Regions from separate parts of the Homo sapiens genome. Here all the other regions are linked to region 6. The links are contacts of gene promoters, found by promoter capture Hi-C in blood cells and fetal thymus (Javierre and others, 2016). All regions are on one chromosome and are shown on one strand. Each heading gives the region's core, a stretch centred on a gene start or on the middle of the fragment in contact. The rest is flanking DNA. Distances are from core to core; before and after follow the strand shown.

Evidence for each region. Contacts are between HindIII fragments. The CHiCAGO score rates a contact against its expected background, and 5 or more counts as called.
Region 1: a fragment that was not itself captured here is called in contact with the fragment with the promoter of PREP in region 6 in 6 of 17 cell types (naive CD8 T cells, activated CD4 T cells, total CD8 T cells and 3 more); the score reaches 6.9 in naive CD8 T cells.
Region 2: a fragment that was not itself captured here is called in contact with the fragment with the promoter of PREP in region 6 in 1 of 17 cell types (activated CD4 T cells); the score reaches 5.2 in activated CD4 T cells.
Region 3: a fragment that was not itself captured here is called in contact with the fragment with the promoter of PREP in region 6 in 5 of 17 cell types (naive CD4 T cells, M1 macrophages, total CD8 T cells and 2 more); the score reaches 7.6 in naive CD4 T cells.
Region 4: a contact is called between a fragment that was not itself captured here and the fragment with the promoter of PREP in region 6, in 2 of 17 cell types (total CD8 T cells and total CD4 T cells). The highest score is 5.7, in total CD8 T cells.
Region 5: a fragment that was not itself captured here is called in contact with the fragment with the promoter of PREP in region 6 in 1 of 17 cell types (naive CD8 T cells); the score reaches 5.2 in naive CD8 T cells.
Region 7: a contact is called between a fragment that was not itself captured here and the fragment with the promoter of PREP in region 6, in 3 of 17 cell types (total B cells, naive B cells and total CD8 T cells). The highest score is 8.7, in total B cells.

What each region holds. Positions count from the first base shown.
Region 1 is chr6:106,251,110-106,254,782 of GRCh38, forward strand. All of the region lies in intron 5 of ATG5 (autophagy related 5), which reads right to left. Among named protein-coding and RNA genes, the nearest start is that of ATG5, 73 kb to the right of the region's middle. The HindIII fragment of the contact is 178 bases long and covers 1,321-1,498 here.
Region 2 is chr6:106,342,281-106,346,037 of GRCh38, forward strand. No RefSeq gene overlaps it. Among named protein-coding and RNA genes, the nearest start is that of CRYBG1, 17 kb to the right of the region's middle. The HindIII fragment of the contact is 440 bases long and covers 1,539-1,978 here.
Region 3 is chr6:106,292,888-106,296,499 of GRCh38, forward strand. ATG5 (autophagy related 5) reads right to left here. Exons shown (of 8, transcript NM_004849.4): 4 at 141-219. Among named protein-coding and RNA genes, the nearest start is that of ATG5, 31 kb to the right of the region's middle. The HindIII fragment of the contact is 3,105 bases long and covers 15-3,119 here.
Region 4 is chr6:106,272,360-106,276,047 of GRCh38, forward strand. The region is part of intron 5 of ATG5 (autophagy related 5); the gene reads right to left. Among named protein-coding and RNA genes, the nearest start is that of ATG5, 52 kb to the right of the region's middle. The HindIII fragment of the contact is 1,299 bases long and covers 739-2,037 here.
Region 5 is chr6:106,226,608-106,230,391 of GRCh38, forward strand. The region is part of intron 6 of ATG5 (autophagy related 5); the gene reads right to left. Among named protein-coding and RNA genes, the nearest start is that of ATG5, 97 kb to the right of the region's middle. RefSeq lists a silencer at 3,464-3,664. The HindIII fragment of the contact is 2,318 bases long and covers 1,346-3,663 here.
Region 6 is chr6:105,400,738-105,404,560 of GRCh38, forward strand. PREP (prolyl endopeptidase) reads right to left here and starts at 2,345. Exons shown (of 15, transcript NM_002726.5): 1 at 2,110-2,345. The coding sequence starts at 2,154. RefSeq lists a silencer at 2,053-2,622. The HindIII fragment of the contact is 7,847 bases long and covers 54-3,823 here.
Region 7 is chr6:106,210,977-106,214,652 of GRCh38, forward strand. The region is part of intron 6 of ATG5 (autophagy related 5); the gene reads right to left. Among named protein-coding and RNA genes, the nearest start is that of ATG5, 110 kb to the right of the region's middle. The HindIII fragment of the contact is 214 bases long and covers 1,812-2,025 here.

The sequences.
Region 1 (3,673 bases), core at 160-2,659, 850 kb after region 6:
TCAACATCTCAATTTGCTTGCTCTGGAGGCCTGCATGGGCTGCCCATCTGTGGTTTCCCACCCAGCTGCCACTCCCTCTGCACAACCATGCCACATGTTGTTGATCACCTGCATTCCAGGTTGCCCTGACTGCCAATGTACTACATACCAACTCTGGCCTGGCGGGAAGAGGGAACTTTTCTACTAATTCAATGAGCTGAATATACCTCCTCCAGTGAAGTCTGAGCCCTAGCCTTTGCAGGTGGGACCCCTTACAAGTTTGGTCTTCCTCTCTCAGCCCTAAGGTAAAATATATAGTTTTCTTATATTTTATAGACACTCTTTTATCAGAGTTTATTAATTCTTCACATAAAACTTAGCCTGCTTAACCCACTGATTAGGCCCAAATACAACTATGTTTAAAAGGAAGACACGATAAAAAAAAAATCTGTATTAATTGATATTAACTTTAATCTTCTTATAGAAACGCTATATTCTTATATTAAAAAGGTATTTTCCCAGCAATAGCTAAAAACACCCTAATCAGAGAGAGAGAGAGGGAGGGAGGGAGGAAGGGAGGGGGAGGGGGAGAGAAAGAAAGACAGAAAAAGAAAGAGAAAAAGAAAGAAAGAAAGAGAAAGAGAAAGAAAGAAAGAAAAGAAAGAAAGAAAAAGAAAAGAAGAAAAGAAAAGGAGGAGAGAAAATCAGTGTTGAGATTGAAGGAATAACCAAGTGTCTTTCACAATGGATTTTTTTGTTCCTTTTAAAAAGAGACAGAGTCTCGCTCTGTCACCCCAGCTGGAGTGCAGTGGCGAGATCTCTGCTCACTGCAACCTCCACCTCCCAGGTTCAAGAGGTTCTCCCACCTCAGCCTCCCAAGTAGCTGGGGTTATAGGCATGCATCATCACGCCCGGCTAATTTTTGTATTTTTAGTAGAGACGGGATTTCACCATGTTGGCCAGGCTGGTCTTGGACTTCTGACCTCAAGTGATCCATCTGCCTTGGCCTCCCAAAGTGCTGGATTACAGGCATGAGCCACCGTGCAGAGCCAAACAAAACAAAGACTAAGTAGGAGAAAATTAAAACTAGCAGTCACTTAGCTTATTCACATTGGGAGGAAGATAATATATATACTTCTCGCCAGAGCTACAAGCAATATTACTGATGTTAGTTTCTTTTTATAAAACTTAACATTTAAGAAGGCTATCAAATCAAAAGCATAAAACTGAAGGACTGTTCTACAGAAATATTCAATCAATTAAAAAAAAAAAAGATGAAAAATACCATTCCTCAAAAATCCTGATGGTCATCCATTTTTCCTCTCTCTCTCTGCTGAATTAAGCTTTTATATTGGTCTTGCAAATTTTAAAACACCTGGAAAAAATGTTATTTTTTTTTTAATTTCAGAGCTCTCTAAAATGCATAAGATACCAAGTTAATTTGTATTCTTTGTTACTCACATGGACAAACTGCAGGAAAAAGTGATAACTTTAAAGGATTTACCTATTCTTCCACTTAAGCTTTACGAGAGGTAAAAACTCAAGGCAAAATAATTCTTATGCCACAAATAACATGTCTAAAATCCCCCACGGGAGACATGGAGGACATATAAGGAGAGTGTAGGGATTGCTACTCAGGCTCAATTCAGCTGGCTAGGACCCTCATGCAGGAAACCGATGAAATGGTCTCCACATGCATACACTATTCACCTCCTGGTCTTTAACATCTAAGAAGCCAAGGGAGAGCAGAGTTACAGCATTTCAAATAAATGTCGGATTGTGACAGCACATAGAAGACAGACTGTAAGCTTGTCTTTGGAAGGAAAAGCAAATGGCTGAAAATCACTACAGAAGGGAACCCACTCTTCACAAAATTTTCCATCTGTCAACAGTATTATTCAAATCAGTACTACAAGTGATCATGTAATAATTGTATTGTTTTAATCAGAGGCTTTCAAGGTATGTAACAGAAAACACATTCAAATATAGACCCATATGAATTAATTTCTTCATACGTAATATGTTAAACATCTCTGTAAGACAAAACAGGAGAAAAATAAAAATGAACAAGTAGTAATTACTGGTAGGCTGCCAAAAGCAGGTTTTCAGTAAGTGACCTGTATCTTCAAACTCATCTGCCTTATGAGCCAGGTCAAATTAAGAGAATCAGCCCTTGAAAATTCATCATGAACACAGAAGTAGGTGGGCCCAGTGGGCTAGCCTCTGCGTCAGGGCTGAGCAGTGCCAGTCCTGGAGGAAGTTCATCCTTCATCCTGTCCATAAACACACATCTTGGCAGAAGGTTTCTACCCAGGGAAATCTGTGGTTTCAGTGAATCACAAAAGCAATAAAATCCAAATTCCTGGACAATTGTGACCTGGACAGTAACTGTCTGAAAATTAACTGAGAGAAGACATTTACTCCTTTACCCTACAAAGTAAGTGCCACAGTCTTAGAAAATTGGCATCAAGAACAGTAATCAATATATATTTAGACTGCAATTACTTCTCTCCGTGTTCACCACTACCACTTTCACCTCTCTGAGCCAACACAATAGCCTCCTACTTGGTCACTGTCCTATGTTTATCCCCTGTGCACAGCATCCAGAAAGCTCTTTTAAAGTATAAATCATCAACGAGTAAATTTTCAAATATTTTCTAATGGGCCATAAAACATAATGCTTTATGATGCACATTAATGATATGGTTATTTTAAGTTATATACTAAAATCATTTTTAAAAATATGCAACCCACTGCATCTCCTTACTGCCTGCATCTGGGGCAGACTGCTCCCTGACCAAACTCTACATGCAGGCAACCATAAATAATGTGAGTAACAAAATACCTCTTCCCCTAGAAGCAGATTCCTACCAGGCCCATTCCACCCCCTTGGAAAGTTATTGCTGCATTTCTCTGAGATCTCACTGTCTACCTTACTAACTTACTAAGTTACTACCTACCTTACTTACTAAGCTCTAAGTCATGCTATTTTTCTTTTCGGTCCCTAGTAAATACCAAACTTGCTCCCATTTCAGTTTTAGCAGCCTAGAATCCCCACTTTCCTAATCTTTACATAACTGCTTCTCATCATTCAAGTCTCAATAGTGTTACCCCCTCAGAAAGATTTCTTTCATAATCCTAGGTAAGACAGTCCCACTTTCCAATCATTCCCTATACCATCACTCTATTTTATTCTAAATACTTATCGTTACTTCAAATTATGCAATTTACATGTTTAAGTATGTACTGTCGCTCTCCCTCAACCAAAATGTAAGTCCCATGAGGGCAAAGACTTTATCTTCAGCCCTAGAAAGTTCTACGTACTTCAGCCCTAGAAAGTTAATGTACTATGAGTATGCACATAGTACATACTCAACGAATGTTTGTTAATCACTAATAGCTAAATGAATGACTAGGCAATGGAGACAATAAAAACAAGGGAATAGCAAACAAAGTGTGGCATAGTGGAAAAAGTAGACAGTCTGGAGCCACACTGCCTGGGTTTGTTTCCCAGCTTTGTCATTTATTTAATAGTTGTGTGAGTTTTAGCAAGACACTTACTGTGCCTGACACAAATTAAGTGCTACATAAGTGTTTCCTATTATCATTATCTTTTAGGCTGCCTCAGATTCAACAAGAGAAGGCACTGAGCTTCTAGATTCTACCAGGTAAGAAGTGTCAGGACCAGTATGGA
Region 2 (3,757 bases), core at 509-3,008, 940 kb after region 6:
GGCTATACCTGTGTGGGGGCAGAGGATATATGGGAAGTCTCTGTACCTTCTATTCAAATTTCTTATGACCCTAAGAATGCTCTAGAAAAACTAAGTCTAAAAAAAAAAAAAAAAGAAAAAAGAAAAACTAAGTCTATTAAAAAGGTGGGGGATTACCTGCAAAGTATCCTTATGGAATTTTATGGTAACATCTAAAGAGATCTAGAGTTTGAGGGAGCAGTCTAGACTGGAGGCATTTTCTTAAGAAGACATTTATCACTCATGTTAGTCTGGGTCCTCCCAGAAGCAGACTCCAGGACAGGATTAAATTTACAAATATTTCTCTAGGAGAAGTCTCTGTGATAGAAAATGTAGGGGGGTCAGGCATGGTGGCTCACGCCTGTAATCCTAGCACTTTGAGAGGCTGAGGCAGAAGGATCGCTTGAGCCCAGGAGTTTGAGACTGGCCCAGGGAACATGGGGACATCCCTGAAAAAAAAAAAAAAAAAAGAAGGCCAGGCTCTGTGGCTCAAGCCTGTAATCCCAGCACTTTGGGAGGTGGAGGCGGGCGGATCAACTGACGTCAGGAGTTCAAGACCAGCCTGACCAGTATGGTGAAAACCTGCCTCTACTAAAAATACAAAAATTAGCCGGGCATGGCGGCACATGCTGTAATCCCAGCTACTCAGGAGGCTGAGGCAGGAGAATCACTTGAACTCCGGGGGGCTGAGGTTGCAATGACCCAAGATCACACCATTGCACTCCAGCTTGGGCAACAGAGCAAGACTTGGTCTCAAAAAAAAAAAAGAAAAAGAAAAAGAAAAGGAAAATGTAGGGAGAGAGGAGGGGCTGGGAAAGCCAGCTGTCAGTGGAGCAAAGGAGCAGGTGGATAGAAGCCAGTTTAGCCTAAGGTAGGTGCAACAAGAAATTTTTAGATGTCTCAAGCCAAAGTCATCAGTCAGAGGAGTCCCATGGAATAGGACTGCCCTCTAATCTCCAGCATGCTCAGTCCCTGGGCCCTCAATCAATCACTCTCACTCAGTAAAGATCTGTGAAGTGTATTCTCCTGACCACCACCACACTTTAACAAATACGTCTTATTTTAATATATACACATCAGTGTAAACAAAAGTTCAACACAATAAACTGTTCTTTGCCATCATGAAGTTCTGAGGGGCAGTGCATAGCTTTGCGTCTCTTGGCCACGGTTTCAGACCTTTCCTCTTCCCCTCTAGATGTCTCTGTAGTTCCTGATACTCAAATACCAGCTATTTAGGGATTAACAGATAAACCTATTCTTCATGCATTGCTGCTACATTGCTTTTTTGCCTACATGTCTTAATCTGATACTTCATTTAAAAAGCAGGATGTTTTGACCAGGCGTGGCAGCTCATGCCTGTAATCCCAGTACTTTGGGAGGCCAAGGGAGGTGGAACACCTGAGGTCAGGAGTTCAAGACCACTCTGACCAACATGGCAAAACCCTGTCCCCACTAAAAATACAAAAATTTAGCCAGGTGTGGTGGCATGCGCCTGTAGCCACATTTATTTAACCTTCCTAAGCTTTATTCTTCTCACCTATGAAATGGGGTAACAATAGTTGCAACCCTATAGTATTGTTATAGTAATAAATTATACATATGTTATATATACATAACAAATAAACATCTGTTTATATATGTGCTGTATGTTATATGCATATTTATATTTATATATATATACAATATTACACAGTGCCTGGTGTATGGTAAGCACTCAAAAAATTAACCATAATAATAACTATTGGCTGGGTGTGGTGGCTCATGCCTGTAATCCCAACAGTTTGGGAGGCCAAGCATGGAGGATTGCTTGAGCCCAGGACTTCAAGACCAGCCTGGGCAGCACAGGAAGACTATGTCTCTATTAAAAAAAAATAATAATAAATATTAATAACATCATTGTTTTTACCTCCCTGCTATTAGACTTACTCCCCTTTTTCATGTTAATTAATTAATTAATTAAAGCTTTCCTAAAGTATTTCCTGATCTTTAGGAATCTCTCACATAATTGCTAACATTTTTTTGGCACCCACTTTGGGCACCTTTATAGTATTTGAAATTTGACAGCAGGTGGCAGAAAACTCAACCAAAATTAGATTTTTAGTTGTTGTTCACATTACAAGAAGTCTAGGGCTTGGGTAGTGGCCCCATGGTAGCGTCATTGTTCCAAATGCTTCTTTCTTCCTGCCCTGCAATCCTCTGGGCCATAAGATGGGTTTGGCTTCTTTGGCATAACATTCATGTCTCAGGAAGGAAGACGAAAAGAAGACAGAAAGGATGGAGGCCAAGGACTTCCTCCTCTCAAAGGTTTACCATTCCATTCAAGGAAGCAAATCCTCGCCACAGATGTTCACCCACATCTAACTGGTCGTGATTGTGCCAAATGACTACCTCTATCTGGAAAACAAGCTGGGAAATCAAGTACTTTTAGTTAGAGAGTGTTCTCACCTCAAACAGAATCAGGGTAATGTTTTGAAGAAGGGAGAATGAGTATTGGCAACTAGCCATGTCTGGTACATGAGCTCATTTAATTCTATTTTAAAATGACAGTCTGTCCAAGATCCAGTACTATGGACTTGAATCTAGAATTCCATAATTGAGGTAATGGGTACATCAGAGCCAATGTCAATTAAGTAGGAGGAAATAAATTATACTAGTTTTTAAATTGAATTGATTGATTCATTTACGCAAAACCTCTGGATGCTAAATAAATGTAGCAACTGATGGGCTGCATTATCCCATGCATAAATTACCCATAACTAGCCAGTTAAGCAGTGTTTGAAACTGGCTGCTTATTAAGCCACTTTATTATGCCATTACTACAGTATATGAAATTATATTCTATGTTTCTGAGTAGGGAAAAGAACCCACACAGCTCGTTGCTTATGTGTTACCTATTTTCATTCAACAGTCTCAAATCCTTTTTCAGAACAAAGCAAATATGAATAAACAATCTGGTAACATGTAATTCATACAATTTAATAAGCATTGCAAATGAGAAAGGAGAGTGTTATTTTCATTTCTTCATATAATAATTACATCCTCTCTTGCAAAGCCCTCACTCATCTGGAAGAATTATATAATGTTCTCAATTTACCATAGGTAGTCAATGCTTAGCCTGTGTGGTATGTAGATGTATATCTTAGTTTCAGGACAGGACTGCATCCAAGCAATTTGAATGTGTCAGGTATGAGTGTCGTCCTATAGTTATTTAGGCCAAGCTAGGAAGAAGGCGGAGTAATAGTGGACTAAGGTATGGCCAAGACATAAGACAAAAATAAAATTTACTGTTAGTTTTTATGTATTAGATTAGTAAACTAATAACTAATGATAAAAATTTACAGCAGCAACTTCTTTACTTTATCCCTTAATTATTTGATGTTTCTTAGTCTTAGGTGTCGAACTAGATTTTAACCTCCTGAAGAATGTTTCTGGTCCCACATAAAGCACTTAACACTACCTTGGGCAATGCTTATTGATTAACTGAAAGATGTATTTATTAAAATTTTCAGTGTTAACTCCTAATTGCCAGTAAATTCTCTTTCCTTTTTCTCTTGAAAAAGTAGTAATCAGCCAAGTTCTTTTTTTTTTTCCTTTGAGACTGTGTCTTGCTCTGTTACCTAGGATGGAGTACACTGGCACACTCACGGCTCACTGCAGCCTCAACCTCCTGGGCTCGGGCGATGCTCCCACCTCAGCCTCCCGGGTAGCTGTGACTACAGGCACACACAACCATGCCTGG
Region 3 (3,612 bases), core at 317-2,816, 890 kb after region 6:
CAAATACTAATCGAAGCTTAGCAACTAAAACAGTGTCAGGGGAAAAGCAATAAATAACTTCACTTAAAAAGAAAATTCTACTCGAAGTCTATTTATTATGTATCACAAATGGGACGAAGGAGAAATGCAATTTACTATACCTTAAAATGTACTGTGATGTTCCAAGGAAGAGCTGAACTTGATGCAAGAAGATCAAATAGCAAACCAATTGGATAATGCCTAAAAATGAAACAGTATATTTTGAGAAAATAAATATTTAAAGTTATAACTACAAGGCCAAAATAAATTTCCAACACATATTTTAACACCAAATGTCAGGGGCTTTAATCACAAATCACAGGAAGACTACATTCTACAGTTACGTGCCTAGGCTAGTATGATCTACTTTCCAGGCATCAGGTGGTTTCCTTCTAACCACTCCATTCCCATAGAAACCTCAATATGCACAATAGGATTGTGGGCAAAGGCATTCTTTATCAGCCATGTGAACTGTTATGTCACAGTACTGTTGCATCTAATTGTCATCCCTGTATTCATAAAGGACAGTTGATTTTTGTAAATTTATTTAAATATGTTTTTTACTTTTAGAACTTAAAATTTTAAAAAACTGTAAGAACCAAGATGAGCAACTAAAACGCATGCAAATCACCTATTCTGTGGTTATTACCATTAACATTATAGCATATACATTTCCAGTCTTCTACCTACACATACATATCTAAATACAGATTAGGACTATCCTTTACAAACTGTACTATAACTTTTTTCACATAATATAATGTCAACATTTTCCCAAGCCACTGAATATTCTTCTGAAACCTAATTCTAAATTTAAAAAAATAAGTTCCAAAATAAGAGAACATTTCCTAATATAACCATTACCCACAGTGAAGTAAATAACTTAGCAATAAATAAACATGACTAATACAAATGTTGTAGATTTCAATGGACAAACCTTAAGTCATCCTTTTAAAAAATCTAAAGTAAATTAGCTTACTTGGTTAATCAGAATTAAATAATACAGGTTGAGTATCCCATTTCCAAAATGCTTGGGATTAGAGAAGTGTTTCAGATTTCAGCTTTTTTTTTTTTCTTCAAATTTTGGAATATTTGCATCATATTCTTACCATTTGAGCATCACAAATCTGAAAATCTGAAATGCTGGAATGAGCACTTCCTTTGAGTGTCACGTCAGTGCTCAAAATGTTTTGGATTTTGTAGTCTTAGATTCTGGATTTCAAATTGTGGGATTTGGGATGCTCACCCTGTACTCACAACAAGGGCAAAAAGAAGACTACTTGGTGTTATACACAGTCCTGTCTTTATCTGTATAATCTATTAATGAGTTACTCCTAGATTTAAGAGCTGCAAAATTTGAAAACACATCAAATTTATCTCAAAATGAGTAACTCTGACCAAGATTCAAATATCAGTTAATATTATTTATGCTTGTGCTACTCTGGGCACGATGCTTATGGGATAGCCCTGCACTGCAAGGAGCAGTACACATTTGCTTATATATATAAACATAGATATATGTTTATATATATAATTGTATATATAATTTATGCTTGCTTACTTGTATAGAATTATGGAAAAGTCATCAGTTTCTAGAGATCATGTATTTATTTGGTAGGAATTTAGGATGGGCTGGGTACTGTAACTCAAGCCTGTAATCCCAACACTTTGGGGGGCCAAGGTGGGTGGATCACTTGACTTGAAGTCAGGAGTTCGAGACCAGTTCCAGTACCTGAGACTGACATGGTGAAACTCTGTCTCTACCCAAAAATACAAAAAAAAAAAAAATTAGCTGGGCATGATGGCACACACCTGCAGCCCTAGCTACTCAGGAGGCTGAGGCGGGAGACTCTCTTGAGCCCGAGAGGCAGAGGCTGCAGTGAGCCAAGACTGTGCCACTGCACTCCAGCCTGGACGACAGAGTGAGACCTTTTCTCAAGAAAAAAAAAAAAAAAAGAATTTAGGATGAACGCCCGGTCGGTAAAAATAAAGCAGTGGGGGTACTTTTAGTCTTATATGCATTATATCTCTTAATAATATCCCTTAAATTTCTCTCTAATCAATCCTTTCATATCCAGAAACTAATACTGAAGAAAATTCTGGAACCAGGAAAAACTCTCGCCTCAGTCAAAACCTAAAATTAAAAAAAAATATACATACACACACACACACATATACACACATATATAGTACTATAGACAAGTTATAGATTTAATCCAATTCTGATCCTTCTCTCTAAAGTATTAAAATTGAACAAGCTCTAAATAATACCTTATACTTTTACAAAACAGACCTTTTAACGTCTTCAATTTATTTTTTAGAATATCTCTCTTAGGTATCTGCAACAGGGTTAAAGATGAATGTAGGCACTTAATTAAAGTTTTATTCACTTGGATTTCATTAAAAAGACTTAACATTTCAAAAGTGACACCATATTGCTTTCCAAATTCTAAACAGCACTGAAAACACAAAGAACTCCGCTAGGCAAAATAGTCTAATCTATTAGATAAGATTCACTCGAGATCACATAAAATTACTAGCAATCCAGTGTTTTACATATTCCCTGCCATTAACAAATGTGTGAAACACTTTTGTGAATTTGTAAGCAAATTCTAAAACAAATATATCTTAAAGCAATCTATAATATAAAATCAAGTAATTTTTTTTTTTTTTTTTGAGACAGGGTCTTACTCTGTAACCTAGGCTGGAGTGCAGTGGTGCAGTCAGAGCTCACTACAATCTTGACCTCCTGGGCTCAAGCGATCCTCCCACCTCAGCCTCCTGAGTGGCTGGGACTACAGACATGTGCCACTATGCCCAGCTAATTATTTTATTTTTTATAGAGATAGTGTCCAACTATGTTGCCCAGGCTGGTCTCAAACTTCTGGACTCAAGCAATACTCCCACCTTGGCCACCCAAAGTAATGAGATTATAGGCATGAGCCACTATGTCCAGCCCAAATAACTCTTTAAGGAAATATCTGGATCAGAATACAAGTTAAACATAAGACTCAATCATAAATTATTTTTTTAACCCTCAATATTTAAAAAACGAGAAAACTATAAATATTTTAAAAATGAGAAAATTATAAATACACAGAAGCTTGAACAAAGTACATAATAAACAACTGCTGAATGCATAAATCGAAGAAGTCCACAGACTAACCCTAGGTACAACATAAAGATCTAATGGAGCCAATTTTAGGTTCTGAGTTTCTTTTTTGAGCAGTTCCAACTATTTTAATGATTGACACTTCATGACTTTTATTCATTCTTAAAGGTATTCCAAAGAACAGAAAAAACTCACTTTAAAAAAAAAAAGATAAAACTTACTCCATGTAGTAATTACCACATGGAGCTACTGGACACTTTTATAAATCTAAGATATATTTTAGGGTCTTAATGATCTTATTGTTTCCTATGTATCAAAACATTTTACTATTTCATCACTCTAGAACTTATTTCATCATTATTTGTCAATTATTCCCAATAAGACACTAAAACAGTAAGAATTTGAAAAAATAACATGATGCCTAGAAGGATGATAGAAGAATGTACCCTTCTTTCATTTTCTTATGTGTTGCCTAAAGTATT
Region 4 (3,688 bases), core at 138-2,637, 870 kb after region 6:
TTGTTAAAATGGCCTACAAAGCCCTGAACAGGCAGCGTCTCTGCCTGACTTCCAGTTTGACCTCCTTACCACTCTCGATCTTGATCACCACATTCTAGTCAGTTCTCAGAACTTAGTAGGCTCTTTGCTTCTGAACCTAGCCCAGATCATTCCCTCAGCCTGAAACAACTTTCATCACAACCACACCACTCTCTCTAGCCCTTCCTCCTTCCTCTACAACTCCAGTTATAAATGTAACAATTACGTAAAAGTGATCTGTTTAATGCCTGGCTCCTCTGCTACCCTACACATTCAGAGGGAAGGGATCGTGCCTGTCATATTTACCCCAGCGTCCCCTGTGCTTAGCACAGAGGCTGGCACATAGTAGGTTCTTATACTGGCTAGCTAATCCACACTACTACGGTCCGGGCATGATTCTCCTATAATGAAGACTGAATTTGCAGCCATGAAGATCAAAGACAATGAATGTTGTTTCCAAGACTTGATTAAACATGAGAGTATAAAATCTGTGAGAAATATTTGTGGCAATGGAAGAAAGAAAAATTTCCAAAAACTCACACAGACAAGGAATGAAAAATAATAGATGAAACAAGGCTGGCCATATACTGGTAACAGATGAGACTGAGTGACCGATATAGATTCATTCTACTATTTTCTTTGCTCTTATTTATACAATGTAATCTCAGTGTTCCAAAGACTGATAAAAATCTGAATTTTGCTAAAGACTGTAAAAAAGGAAGCTTATCCAATATCAGTCTTTCAATGAGAAAAAAGGTTCAAGAAGAGTAGTTATGCCTCCTACAGTTCTACTTAGGAATCTACTTTTACACCACCTGCAACTACAACAGAACCTGACACTGTAACAAAAAACACAGAAATTAAAGACTCAAAATAGATACACAGGTAGTAGCTGCATCAAGTCTAAAAACTCTTGTTTCTGTTTTAGTAGTTTTTCTATGTTACCACAGTTATTTCTGGAAAGTTATCTATTTCCTTCTACCTAGTAAGTCCTGCTTAAAAAGACCGAGAAGGAGGGGGATGGGAGAACAATAAATATTATTCACCCAGGAAGTCCTTTTGAAATGAACTGAAAACATCTATCATCAGAATTAAGGTGTATGTGATTATTGCTTTACAATCCTTGAATTTGAGTCTTATGAGGCATTACCACCTTCGTATTTGTAATAAAACTCCAGCTTTACAGACATCACCTAGGGGAAGGGAAGGGAATTGGGGAAGGGGTAGAAAAGAAAAGAAAGAAAAGTCCAGCTTAGAGAGAAAAGTGACCTGCCATGATCATACAACTGATAAGAGACACAGCAATAAATAAATAGATCAGGTCTGGTGCTCCATCTCAAAACAATAATTTCTCAGTCTACTTATTCTACTATAAGCAGAAGTAGTAAAAACAAGGCAATGCAATGACAACCCACCAGTCTATATCACACAAACCTCCAAAGAGCTGGAACGGCTGCATTTAACTTTTATGTTACCTACCAAACAAAAGTATTTTCCAAATGTCGTGACTTGTTATAAAATTACCATTAGCTAATCACCATCTCCTCTTAAAAACCAGTTTTAAGTTAAAATGGCACACTATCAAATAATTATTGTCTCTAAAATATTAATTAGTTGAAAAAGCCTAACCACATTTTAGAAACACTGTACACTTTTAACATATTAGCAGTTAAACCTTGCGTTTATTTGCAGGTCTACAGAACGTATCTAATGCCAACCCTCCCCGCCTTTTTGGGATTGTATACTCCGAAAAGCAAGAAACTAAGTCATGGTAAAAACATTTTTTATAGATTTCCTCAAATCACTAGCTTATAAGAAAAACAACTTGATATTAAATAGGTAATAGCCTGCACTTGCAGTAACAACTGCTCATAAATAAAAATGCTACTTTCTTTTATTTCTTGTGGCCATTAACTTTATTTCACAGAGAGGTTAAATATTTTTATATATAAAATGAAAACTCATAAAAAAAACACTGAAAGGCACAGTATGTCCTAAATGAGTTTTCTTGGTTTCATAAGCTTTTCTTATTTCTCTTTCACAGAGTTCTGAGAAATTAAAATTAGCATTTGAAAGTATTCAAAAATTGTTTAAACTGTTGTTTAGCTGTTATAATCTACAAGTGCAGTTCTAAATGAAATAAATGTGCCATCTATTATGTCACAATATTGAGAAATTTACAATTGCACTAACAGAAAGGTTTAATATCTCTGACTTCACAAATTAATAAAAACTTCTTTTGGAAGAAAAAACTCTACATAAAATCCAATTCCATAAATAAATTCAAACAAGACACTTCCTTTAGTTTAATAGGAAACTACTTATGAAAAATTGTTAATATTATTTCCTGTTAGTATTAGAAAGGAATAAAATAAAGAAGTCATGCAGTTAATATTTAGTTTCTCTACTCTCTGCCAAAGACCACACTAGGTGCTGGGGATACAAAAATGTAAGATGTACCCCAACCAGGCTAACTGATAGGCCAGCAAAATACATAAACCATATAACTATACCAGAGTGTGATAAAATACAAGAGAAAAAAATGCCTAAATGGACAAAAGGTCATGAAAGTTGAAAGCATTAACAGTTCTGCCTCCACTTTTCTATAAAGCTCTGTGAAGACAGGAGCCATGTTTGTCCCATCAGTGCTGGATGATCACTAGCCCCTAGCATAATGTCAGATATACACAAGGTGCTCAATAAATATCTGTTGACTAAAACAATAAAAGAAGGAAAGCTTCTTATAGAAAGTGACAACTGAGATGAGCATTAAAGCATCAGTAGGAGTTAAAGGGAAAAAAGTATTCCTGATAAAAGAAACAGAATAGAAAACATCCACCTTTTACCCATTTACATTAATTAACATTCAGCATTTTACTCCAAAATATATTTTCTACAAGCAACATTTACCAAGCTAAAGATTTCCGAAATGAATATTCTCATTCTGAATAAACAGAAAATAAAGTACCAAGGACTCCAGTATCCACAGCATACCTCTCATTAGACTTTGCTGTGGAGATCTCTCACAAGACTACTCAGTCTTAGAAGTATGTTAGCTCAATTACAGTAGTGTAAGCTTATTCATAATCATCACAAATAAAACCAAACATAATAGCTACAAAAATAATTTATAACCAAAAACAAAATGGAATAAAGTATATTTTAACCAAACATTATTAAGTTGGATTTAATCAAACGTCACTTTAAAATTAATTTAATAAAATTTAATAAAGAAAACTTTACAACAGTCACATAAGAAACAATATGAGCCAAGGCAGAAATAGAAAAAAAGTAATTTTATGCCCCAAAAAATTGTAATAAATGCAGTTATTAGACTAAGTCAGCTACATTATGTTATACCCAGTTCTGAATGTGTAACATTTTGAGTCAGACTTCAGGTCAAAGATAAACATGAGCTGTAGCTTGGTTAACCAACCTTTTATGGGCTGACAAGCATTTTCTTAAAAGGCCAGACAATAAATATGTTAGGCTTGTGGGCCACATAGTCTCCTCATAATGATTTAACTCTGCTACCGAAAGTAGCCAACGACAATACATAAGTGAATGAGTGTGGCCGGGTTCCAGTAAATCTTTATTTACAAAAGCAGATGGCTGGCCCATGATCGTATTTGCCAGCCCTCTCCTGGAATCTAAAAGTGACTTCTCACTA
Region 5 (3,784 bases), core at 1,255-3,754, 830 kb after region 6:
TTTTGTCACTACAGATTAGTTCTGTCTGGTCTAGAACTTCTTAAAAACAGAATCATAGAGTATATTCTCTTTATATCAGCTCTTTTTACTCAACACAATGTTGTGTGAGATTTATCCATGTTGTTGCATGTATCATTCCCAAACAGAAATAGAAATTATAGAGATAAATAGGAGTTACAAAAAAGTACCAAACAAAAATTCTGGAGTTGAAAAGCACAAAAACTGAATTAACTTGAGGGGCTCAACAGCTGATTTGGGCAGCCAGAAGAATGAATCAGCAAATCTAAAGATAGGTCAATTGCGAGAAAGAGAGGGAAGAAGGAAGGAAGGAAGGAAAGGAGGCTCAGAGACCCAAGAGACACCATCAGGCATACCAATATACATATAATGAGAGGCCCAGAAGAAGATGCAGAAAAAGGGTCAGAGTATCTGAAAAAATAATGGCCCTAAACTTCCCGAACTTGACCCCAAAAATTAATCTACACATCCAAGAAGATAAACAAACTAAAAAGAATAAAATCAAAGCGATCCACACCTAGGTACATCATAATCAAATGACTGAAATATAAAGAGAGACTCTCAAAACAGGCAAGGGACTTATGTACAAAACATCTTCAGATTAATAACAAATTTCTCATCAGAAATGATGTTGTCAATAGGCAATCAGATGACATAATCAAAGCACTGAAAGAAGTAGAATGTCTGGGACCTGGAATGCTGGTGGACACCTGTAATCTCAGTATTTTGGGTGGCCAAGGTGGGAGGATCACTTGAGGCAAGGAGTTGAAGACCAGCCTGGGCAGCAGAAAGAGGCTCTGTCTCTACAAAGAATAAAAAGATTGGCTGAATGTGGTGGTGTGGACCTGTAGTCCCAGCTACTCAGGCGGCTAAGGTGGAAAGATCGCTTGAGCCCAGGAGTTGGAGGCTGCAGTGAGCTATGACTGTGCCACTGCACTCTTGCAGTGGAGACCCTGTCTCTATAAAGAAAAAATGTCAACCAAAAACTACATGCAGAAAAACTGCACTTCAAGAAATGATCAGTACCTTGAAGCTCTGAAGGTGCTTAAGACTGTAGATCAATACCATAGAAAATAATTTAGTATTTAGGAATGTAAGAAAATTAAGACAGCCTTGTTTGATAACTACACATAATACTGTAACTGTTCTTGCACTGTTCTGGTTATTGTCAAGCTATGAGCACAAACTGATGACTGAAATACAGAATACAGAACAGGATATAAAATCTTATCAGGTAAAGTTAGGCAAGCAATTACTAGTTGTAATTCAACTTGAAGGAGAAGGAATAAGGAACCAACTCAAACCAGGCAGCAATGAATTGTAAAAAAGCTTAAGGTAAAACAAACAGGGAAATAAAACAACTCAGAACCTAAGCATATCGTAAGAACCTAATCTAACAAGGAGGGGCTTAAACTGATTATTTTACAGCTTGGGTGCAATTATCCCACAAAAAACTTTCAGGAGTTTCACCAGTCCATAAACTATTTGGTTATTAGAAAATAGCTTTATTGGGCTACCCTCTTTGGGTCCCCTCCCTTTGTATGGGAGCTCTGTTTTCACTCTATTAAATCTTGCAACTGCACTCTTCTGGTCCGTGTTTGTTACGGCTCGAGCTGAGCTTTCACTCTCCATCCACCACTGCTGTTTGCCGCCATCGCAGGCCTGCCACTGACTTCCATCCCTCTGGATCTAGCAGGGTGTCCGTTGTGCTCCTGATCCAGTGAGACGCCCATTGCCGATCCCGACTGGGCTAAAGACTTGCCATTGTTCCTACGCGGCTAAGTGCCCGGGTTCATCCTAATTGAGCTGAACACTAGTCACTGGGTTCCACGGTTCTCTTCTGTGACCCGTGGCTTCTAATAGAGCTATAACACTCACCGCGTGGCCCAAGATTCCATTTATTGGAATCCATGAGGCCAAGAACCCCAGGTCAGAGAACACGAGGCTTGCCATCATCTTAGAAGCAGCCCGCCACCATCTTCGGAGTTCTGGGAGCAAGGACCCCCTGGTAACAATTTGGCGACCACAAAGGGACCTGAACCCGCAACCATGAAGGGATCTCCAAAGCGGTAATATTGGACCACTTTTGCTTGCTACTCTGGCCTATCCCTTAGAATTGGAGGAAAATACTGGGCACCTGTCGGCCGGTTAAAAACGATTAGCATGGCCGCCAGACTTTAGACTCAGGTATGAGGCTATCTGGGGAAGGGCTTTCTAACAACCCTCAACCCTTCTGGGTTGGGAACCTTGGTCTGCCTGGAGCCAGCTTCCACTTTCAATTTTCCTGGGGAAGCCAAGGGCTGACTAGAGGCAGAAAGCTGTCGTCCCGAACTCCCGGCATTAGCCGGTTGAGATCATGTCGCAGCCAGAAGTCTCTACTCAACAGTCGCCCATGCGTGCGCTCCTACCTTCCCTTCTGTCCCACACCTCCTGGGTCCCAACCACGACTTTCTTGAAAGTGTAGCCCCAAAATTCTCCTTACCTCTGAATCTACTTCCTCTGATCCCTGCCTCCTAGGTACTAATGGTTGAGACTTTCATTTCCTCTAGCAAGTTGTATCTCCAAAGGGATCTAAGGAAGCTCTATGCTGCGCCCTTAGGCATCTAGGCTATAAACCCAGGGAGTCTTGTCCCTGGTGTCCCTCCTGATTTAGGTATACAGCTCTAGACATGGGCAGTTATGTGGGACCTGTTCCCCACCACCCTTGCCAGGGCCCCAAGTTTGTAAATGGCTAAGAGAGGAAACAGAGAGAGACAGAGAGAAAGAGACAGTGAGAGACAGACAGAGACAGAGAGAGAGAGAGACAGAGAGGAGAGAGAGAGAGACAGGGAGGACAGGGAGAGAGACAGAGAGGAGAGGGAGAGAGACAAAGAGGAGAAAGAGGCAGAGAGACAAACAGGGAGTCAGAGAAAGAAAGACAAAGATAGAAATAGTAAAAAAAAACAGTGTGCCCTATTCCTTTAAAAGCCAGGGTAAATGTAAAACCTATAATTGATAATTGAAGGTCTTCTCCGCGACCCTATAACACTCCAATACTACCTTGTTGTCAGCGTAAACAAGGGCGTAGCCTGAAAACACTAAGACCACTGACAACCCATAGCCTTCCTATCAAAAATCCTTAACATCCAGTGACCTGCGGATGGCCCAAATGCATTCAATCTGTAGCGGCAACTGCTTTGCTAACAGAAAAAAGTAGAAAAGTAACTTTTAGAGGAAACCTCATTGTGAGCACACCTCACCGGTTCAGAATTATTCTAAGTCAAAAAAGCAAAAAGGTAGCTTATTAACTCAAAAATATTAAAGTATGGGGCTATTCTGTCAGAAAAAGGTAATTTAACACTAACCACTGATAATTCCCTTAACCCTGCAGATTTCCTTACAGGGGATTTAAATCTTAATTACCATACAAAGGTCCGACCAGACCTAGGAGGAACTCCCTTCAGGACAGGATGATAGATGGTTCCTCCCAAATGACTGAGGAAAAAACCACAATGGGTATTCAGTAATTGATAGGGAGACTCTTGTGGAAGCAGAGTTAGAAAAATTGCCTAATAATTGGTCTCCTCAAATGTCAGAGCTGTTTGCACTCAGCCAAGCCTTAACGTACTTACCGAATCAAAAAGACTATCTCAATCCTGACTCAAAAGCTTACTTATACCCTCTCTGAAACGAATTTGCCTAAGAACTGTTGTTTATGGGAATGCATCTTGATGGAGCAGCTGGGTTGTTATGAAATACTCAGGAACTCAGCCTAGCTCTAGGACTC
Region 6 (3,823 bases), core at 1,095-3,594:
CAAATTTCTGCCCAAAAAGGCAGAACTCCACCAAAATGGTCTCAACGCTCCAAAGCTTTCAGCAGGAGAGTACTGAGCATATGGCTGAAGGTGCTCAAGTGAAAGAGACAGAGAGCTACCGCAATGCCCAGCTGATGCTGGGGAGAAACAAACCCATCCTAGAAATCAAAGGCTACCATTTAAGCAAATACCTAAGTCAAGCCTAGGGCTTAGTAACCAAAACCTTAATGCAAAAAAAAAGATACTCCACCGTAAGCTATCAAGGAGCCACACAACAAGATCCAGACTGGGCCAGAGCTACATTCCCTTGGCCACGAGGCTTAGAGTTAGCATGAGTTGCTTAATGAGAAGGAACTGGAGTGTATTAAAATCCACAGTATACCCTTCCGAGTTGTTTATAATCTTTTAGACGTCTTCATAAAATCCTCACTTAAACCTTTCATGAAATATCAAACATAAATAAACAAACTGTAGGATTTAGGCACCCACAGTGGTGAAAAACTAACAAGTAACTCTAAAAACAAACTTAAAACTGCACTTATCAAACCACAGAATGGGTAATTCTTTATATTCTGATCCTCAAGAACCAGAACCAAGAGAGTCACCTGGCTTCCCATTACTAGTCTGGAACACTGCAGAGCTAGACTGTCACATGAATGAATGAATGAATGACAACATTCCTACTGCAGAAGCAAGTAAGCCCTATGGTCAGTCCAAATATTTCTCATATGAGAAAAAAGGCCCATAACAGGTAAAAGAGCTGCTAAAAGTCACCTAACTAGTGAATGACAGAACCAGAACTAGCGCTCTGGTCTTTTCATTTAGTCCAGCCTCTTTCTCCATTCCAGCAGGATCACTTTACTCCCATATTCAAAGGAAACAACCTTTAAACCACAGGAATAGAGCTTCTTGAGCTGTTAGGGTAAATTTAATAAGCAAGCAGCTGAGCAGACTGAGAAAACATGGTTACCAGATGGCCACTGGTCAAAGAAACCATGAATGAATGCATCAGTGTCACTTGGAAGTCTTAATTTAAAACAGTATGTCCTTTACTCCGAAGCGTCAGCACCCTTTACCCCAATGTAGCACGTGCTTTAAAGTAAACACTTTCTGGCATAAATTGGGAAAGTAAACAGAAAAACATTAAAACTGTATCACACAAATACATACTTATTCTGATTATATTTTAAGTAATCTGAGAAATGTAGCTATTAGTAAGAGAATCACGGCCACAACATGTGGATGCAATCCAGTTCCTAAGTCGTCAAATTCACGTTTACACAAAAAAGGTGTCTGCCCAGAATTCCGCCTACTGGATCTCAACAGTTACCTTGAGTTCATCTGCAGCTTAGGCAAATGGTGGTCAACTCCGCCACTAGACAAAACTTACTCATTCTGAAAAAGGTCAACCCCTCTCCCTTCTAAGACCTCCTCTCACCCTCTCTCAACTCCTTTTCTTGTTTAAGAAAACATGGATCAGCACGGCCACACTATGGGGTCACTGCTCCGCCTTCCCCATTTCTGTCCGGGTCTCTGGCATCCCCAGGGCCCAGTGCGCCTCATCCGACCTGGGACAGGGTAGGCGCTCAACACACCTTTTAAAATCGAACGAATATGCTTCAACTCTAAGGACTTTAAAGTGTAAGTTTTAAAAGTTTGTTTTCGTTTTTAAATGTGACATCACACACACACACACACACACACACACACAAACACACACACACACCCCAGCGGACACTTTCTCCTACCACCATATTTAAGCAAGAGGCTTCGCCAGTCAAAAAAGCAGTGACACCGTCTGTCTTCCCACTCCCTGAAGACACCCATTCTACCCGGGCGTCTGCCCTTGACCCCATTGATTCTAGGAAGCGGCCGGGCGGCGCTGCCCACAGGCTCCGCCGCCAGCACTAGCAGAGTGACCGCCCGCGGGACCCCAGCGCTGCAGAGGAGCCCCGCGCCCCCGGCCCAATTCTCCCAAACAAAGGCCGAGGGGGAGGGGAGGGACGCGGGGGTCGAAGGCCTACAGGAAGAGGAGCTGCGGGTGCCACGGGTCAGGCAGGCTGGGCACCTTTGCCCGGGAGCCCTCTGGGCGGAGGCAGAGATACTTACGGCGGTCTCGTCGCGGTACACGTCGGGGTACTGAAGGGACAGCATGGCCGGGGACAGGCAGGGGGCAGCGTGGAGGGGCGCGGGCTCCGGGAGCGGACCTGAGCTAGCCGGGCTGGCCGCGAGGCGCGGCTGGGGCGCAGGCAGCTGCGGGGCGGCCGGCGGCAGCGGGCGGCCGGCTCACGGCCAGAGCTAGCACAAACGGACTGGCGGCGCGGCGGCGAGGACGTGCAGAAAGCAGGAAGCCGCTGTCTGCGAGGCCGGGAGCCCCTCCCCGGCGGGCGGGCCCAGCGGCGGCGGCGGCGGCAAGAGGGAGCGGGCGGCACCGAGCGTGCGCTAAGGCCGGCGCACAGCTCCCTCTGCAGGATCGCCGGCCGCGCCCGCGCCGCCCGGGCGCACGGAGGAGCACGCCGGCTACGCGCTCGCCCACGCCCGGCCGCCCGCCCGTCCTCTGCGCCGGGGACAAGTCCTTCCACCGAGGCCGGGTCCCCGCGCCTTCCCTAGCGCCCTGCCTCTCTTTGGCCGCGCTCGCAGGACCGCCTGTAGGAGAGTGAAGCCCCAGGGTTTCCTTGCTGATGGAGTCCCCCACCTTCCCCAGCCTTCCTGTTCCCGGGCTGGTTACGGCGGCGAAGGGAGACCTTGCCTCTCCCCAGCCTTGGAAGCAGAGGGCTGGAGGTGGCCTTATGTCCACTGCCTGCGACTCTGGACTTGAAGGGAAGAAGTAATCGATCATGATGACCGTGAAAGAAACACGTCTCCCTTCATCCCAGGACCCCTGGTGGACACTGGGTGGTTTAGCATCCGGACTATGGAGATGCTTTGGAGGTGTTGGCAGGACTACGGTTGAGCCCTTATTTGATATTTACCGATTGAGAAAGAACCAAGATTAAGAGGCCTGGAACTCATCAGGGGTATTTTATTTATCCTGCCTTTTCCTCATTTCCTCTCCTGCTGTCATGCTTGTTTATTGAGCACCTACTGTTTATGGGAAGAAAAGATAATAGACAAGATACTTGACCTCAAACCCATGAAAATTTAATAGTTACATGTCATCATCCTCGGGCCAGCAGCGGTATGTGTTCTGGTCTTGCTTCCTGGACCACCCAGAAGAGACTTTATAGCCCCAGCCATCAGGGGTATAGTGTGTGCCCAGTGTGTTTTCTATCCCTGGCTTCCAAAAAGTCCTGGAAGAAAGAATAGGTGTGACCAGAAAGTCCTTCACCTCCGGAATCTAAGTGGATATGGTAACTATTATAAACTTGTGTCCTCCGTCTCTTTTGTGATATGGTCCCAATTCCATGCCTCACCCTTAGTTCACCATTTCTGTTCATAGTGATGTGTCATAATCATTTTCTGCATCTGATCCCAGATACCCCCTCCTGGGGCAATCTGAGAATCCTCAATTCTGGGAGAACTCACGCTATTGATAACAAACTTTGTGCAAACACGGGGGCATAGCCCACTACAGCCCAGAAGTCCCAATTCCAGTTCCCACCTCGTGCCTTCCCTGGCTGTCACCTGACGCAGGGACTGGCAGGCATTGTCTCCTCCTTCTGCCACTGTGAGGGATTTTTTAAAGAGCAACCCAGGAGCACTTGACCCAGCAGACCCCCTAATGATAATATTAATGCTTATGGAGTGTTTTTTTCAGTGTATCAGGAAACTATCTAGAACTAATGTCCCTATTTTATAGTTAAGGAAAACGGGCTGACTTTTG
Region 7 (3,676 bases), core at 669-3,168, 810 kb after region 6:
ATACTATTCTTGTAGTCAACCCTGTTACTATGTTATTACTAGTGTCAGTTTTGTTGTTTTGGTCATACATATTGTTTTACATACATTAAGAATTATTAGAAATGTTGGTTTATTAAAAATGACCATTTATGGCTAGAAGGGTATATATCTGGCTCACTGACTGTGGAGTCAATGTCCATAAAGAGGAGGAAGAATGCCATCAGAGTAAAAGGAGATTCTATTCACTGAAACAAAGTGATAAAAAGCTATGAAAGAGAAAAACATAAAATAACCAAAGGGGTGAAACTTAACAGATGCCCAGTAGATGCACAATGCACTGGGTTGTAAAACTTAAAATGGCCTTAATTAAAAGCCAAGCACGGATGGAGGTGCTGGGGGAGTCTCCTACGGACACAGCAGGCAGAATGTAACAATGACAAGGGGCTCAAGTTTATTTAAAAAGAGATTGGACAGGCCGGGCGTGGTGGCTCACGCCTGTAATCCCAGCACTTTGGGAGGCTGAGGCGGGTGGATCATGAGGTCGGGAGTTCGAGGCCAGCCTGGCCAACATGGCGAAACCTCATCTCTACTAAAAATAAAAAAAATTAGCCGGGAGTGGTGGCGTGCATCTGTAGTCCCAGCTACTCAGGAGGCTGAGGCAGGAGAATCACTTGAACCTGGGAGGCAAAGGTTGCAGTGAGCTGAGATCATGTCACTGCACTCCAGCCTGGGCAACAGAGTGAGACTGCTCAGGATCTCCCAAAGACCCAAATCCCTGTAAACTGAATGCATAATATCATTTGCTCCAGTGAGGCTTAGATGGACATTCTAGTCTTCTTGGTTGAGCTGAAGAAACAAATATTATATTGATAATTTATGTATGTTGTATTTTTCAAGGTATAGCAACAAGTTTTTATTCATCAGCTACTTTGTGTGTGTGCTTTGTTTTTAAGTCTTTTGAAACAGGATGGTGATTTACTACATTTATAAGTAAAATTTATTTGATTTACAAGGGTTGCTTAAGTGTATCACAGGATTTCACTTGTTATATTTGCAGGTGCTTAAAAAATCAGCTATACTAAACTATAACTGGAATTAGCAAAGTTCATTTATTGATTAATCAAGAATATAATTAGATTTGCCTAACTATATAAGTAGTACTATGTGTTATTTAAGAATTAAATCTAGAAAAGGGATGGACTCTGGAAATATCAAGAAGTGAAAAAGACTGCTCTCATTTTTGTACAACAATTACTAAATTTCTAAGTAGCATTAATTGAACTGAAAAGGCATTTTAGAAAAACTAGATTTTACAATTTATAACTCTAATAAAACACAACTAACTATGAGTGTGCTTGTTCATGCCCAAAAGCTACCTTCCAAAATTAAAAACCCTATTGGATGGCTGGGTGCAGAGGCTCATGCCTGTAATTCCAGCACTTTGGGAGGCCAAGGCGGGCGGATCACCTGAGGTCAGGAGTTCGAGATCAGCCTGGCCAATATGGTGAACCCGTCTCTAACAAAAATACAAAAATTAGCCGGGCGCTGTGGCGGGTGCTTGTAATCCCAGCTACTCGGGAGGCTGAGGCAGGAGAATCACTTGATCCTGTGAGGCGGAGGTTGCAGTGAGCTGACACCGTCCCACTGCACTCCAGCCTGGGCGAGAGCCCAGAGCGAGACTCCGTATATTAAACAAAACAAAACAAAACTCAAAAAACCCTATTGGCAATTACTAGGGCCATCAAATCAGTATATTTTCACTTGACACACAATTTTGAGATAATGAACCGAACTTACTATTTTTGAAAATATTACATAATAAATATTAGTGAAGCTTCATTGCTGAAATGGTGACAAAGATGAATAGCAATAAAACTTTTCTTATAGATCTTTAGCAAAAACAAAAAAACCCCAAGCATACTATGGTACATTACTTTAGAGAATCAAGTAGCTGCTAGTTGAGTAATAGTGGTAATAGGCACTACAATGATATAAACAAATTACAACAAAGAATATTGTTTTTATTTCCTGTCCATGTTTTAAAAAAGCTTTGGTTTTACCTATGTTTAACAAAAGCATAGGTACAACAACGACTACTACTACTAACATATAAGTAGCCTGGATAGAATTATCTTAATAGTAGTACCCAAGTGCAGGATCTCTAAGTAATGATCAGAAGGCAGGAATAAATTTTATCAGAAATCTTCATTCATTACATATTTACTATGCATTTACCAGGGTATCACTATGCTAATGGATACAAAGATAAATAACATGCAAACAACTGTAATACAGTGTTATGTGATAACAGAAATATGTACAAAGCACTATGAAAAAAATTACAAAGCTTGAGCACAAATTTTAACTCTGGACTTACTGGCATTTAGAGCAAAACCAAAACAATCCTAACTGGTTAATTTCATTTTCTAAGAGTTGGAAGCTATATCAGTAGGTACAAAGTAAAATATGCTAATTGTGGTAGAAAGTAAAATATTACAACAGTAGAGAATTTCAAAAGAAGATAAAAATAATGGAGGGAATATAGAAGGTCTTCAAGCTTCCAGCTTGAAATACATATTTTTTTTTAAATAGAGAAAGAGATAAAGTCATTTGAGTATTCAGAGGGCAGACTGAATATAATGGTACTTCTGAGAAATCAGTGGATAAGGAGAGAAAAGTGGACTAAAGGCCATAGCATATAGAGCTTGGAATGTCAAATGTAGTGGAAATAACAAAGGTTTGGTTGGAATCCCAACTCCCAACAACGTACTGTGTATCTAGAGCAAATTACATCAACCTTTGGGAGTACTGTTTCTGAATCTGAAAAATGAGGAAAACTTATCTTTGAACAATTGATGTGATAATTAAATGAGATATATGAAATATCTAATGTAACAAGTGCTTAACAATGACTAGTTCTTTTCATTCCTCTCTTGAACCATTGTGAAACGTAGAACCAAGAAAGGTAACAGTATTTAGTTGTTACAGAACCCATTAAGAGAGAATAAAAAATAACTGGTATTCTAACTTCAGTTTCCTTTGAAGTCTTGTTAATGAGAATAAATATTATGTGGCACAAAGAAAAAGAAAACAGGGGTTTACACAGGATATGCTGCCAGACTTTACCAACAATGACACATGATATCTGCTTCAACTGTCCCATGCATATTTGGCTTAAGATATATTCATGCATATCAAATTTTACATCACATGGTTTTCAAAAGAAGATTCATTAAAATTAGCTTAAGAATGTACACAATATACAATACCTCATTAAATAAAAAGAACAGACCATTTCCAAATGAATGCTTTTAGAGCTTTACAGTAAACAGTCTTTTGGTGGTAGAAAGAGGGGGAACAGAGAGGGGAGTGGGTGGGAGTCTGTAGCACTTATCAGACTACTTTTATCCTTTATGTAGAGAAATAGGAGAGTTGAAAATAAGCACTTTCTGTACTTATGTTGAGAGTCTGAAGCCCACTTTTAATAGTCTTGACAACACTAAAAAATAATAATTAACATTTGAAAAGCTGTCATTATTATAGTCAGGGACACTTAATCTCCAAAGGAGAAGTTTCTTAATTGATACTATGATTAAATAAAAGCATCCATCAGAATTATATCCACAATCTGGTTTGGAGTTTATGTTTTGTCTTATTTAAATTGTTATACTTATTATAATTCTGTCTAGACAGTGCC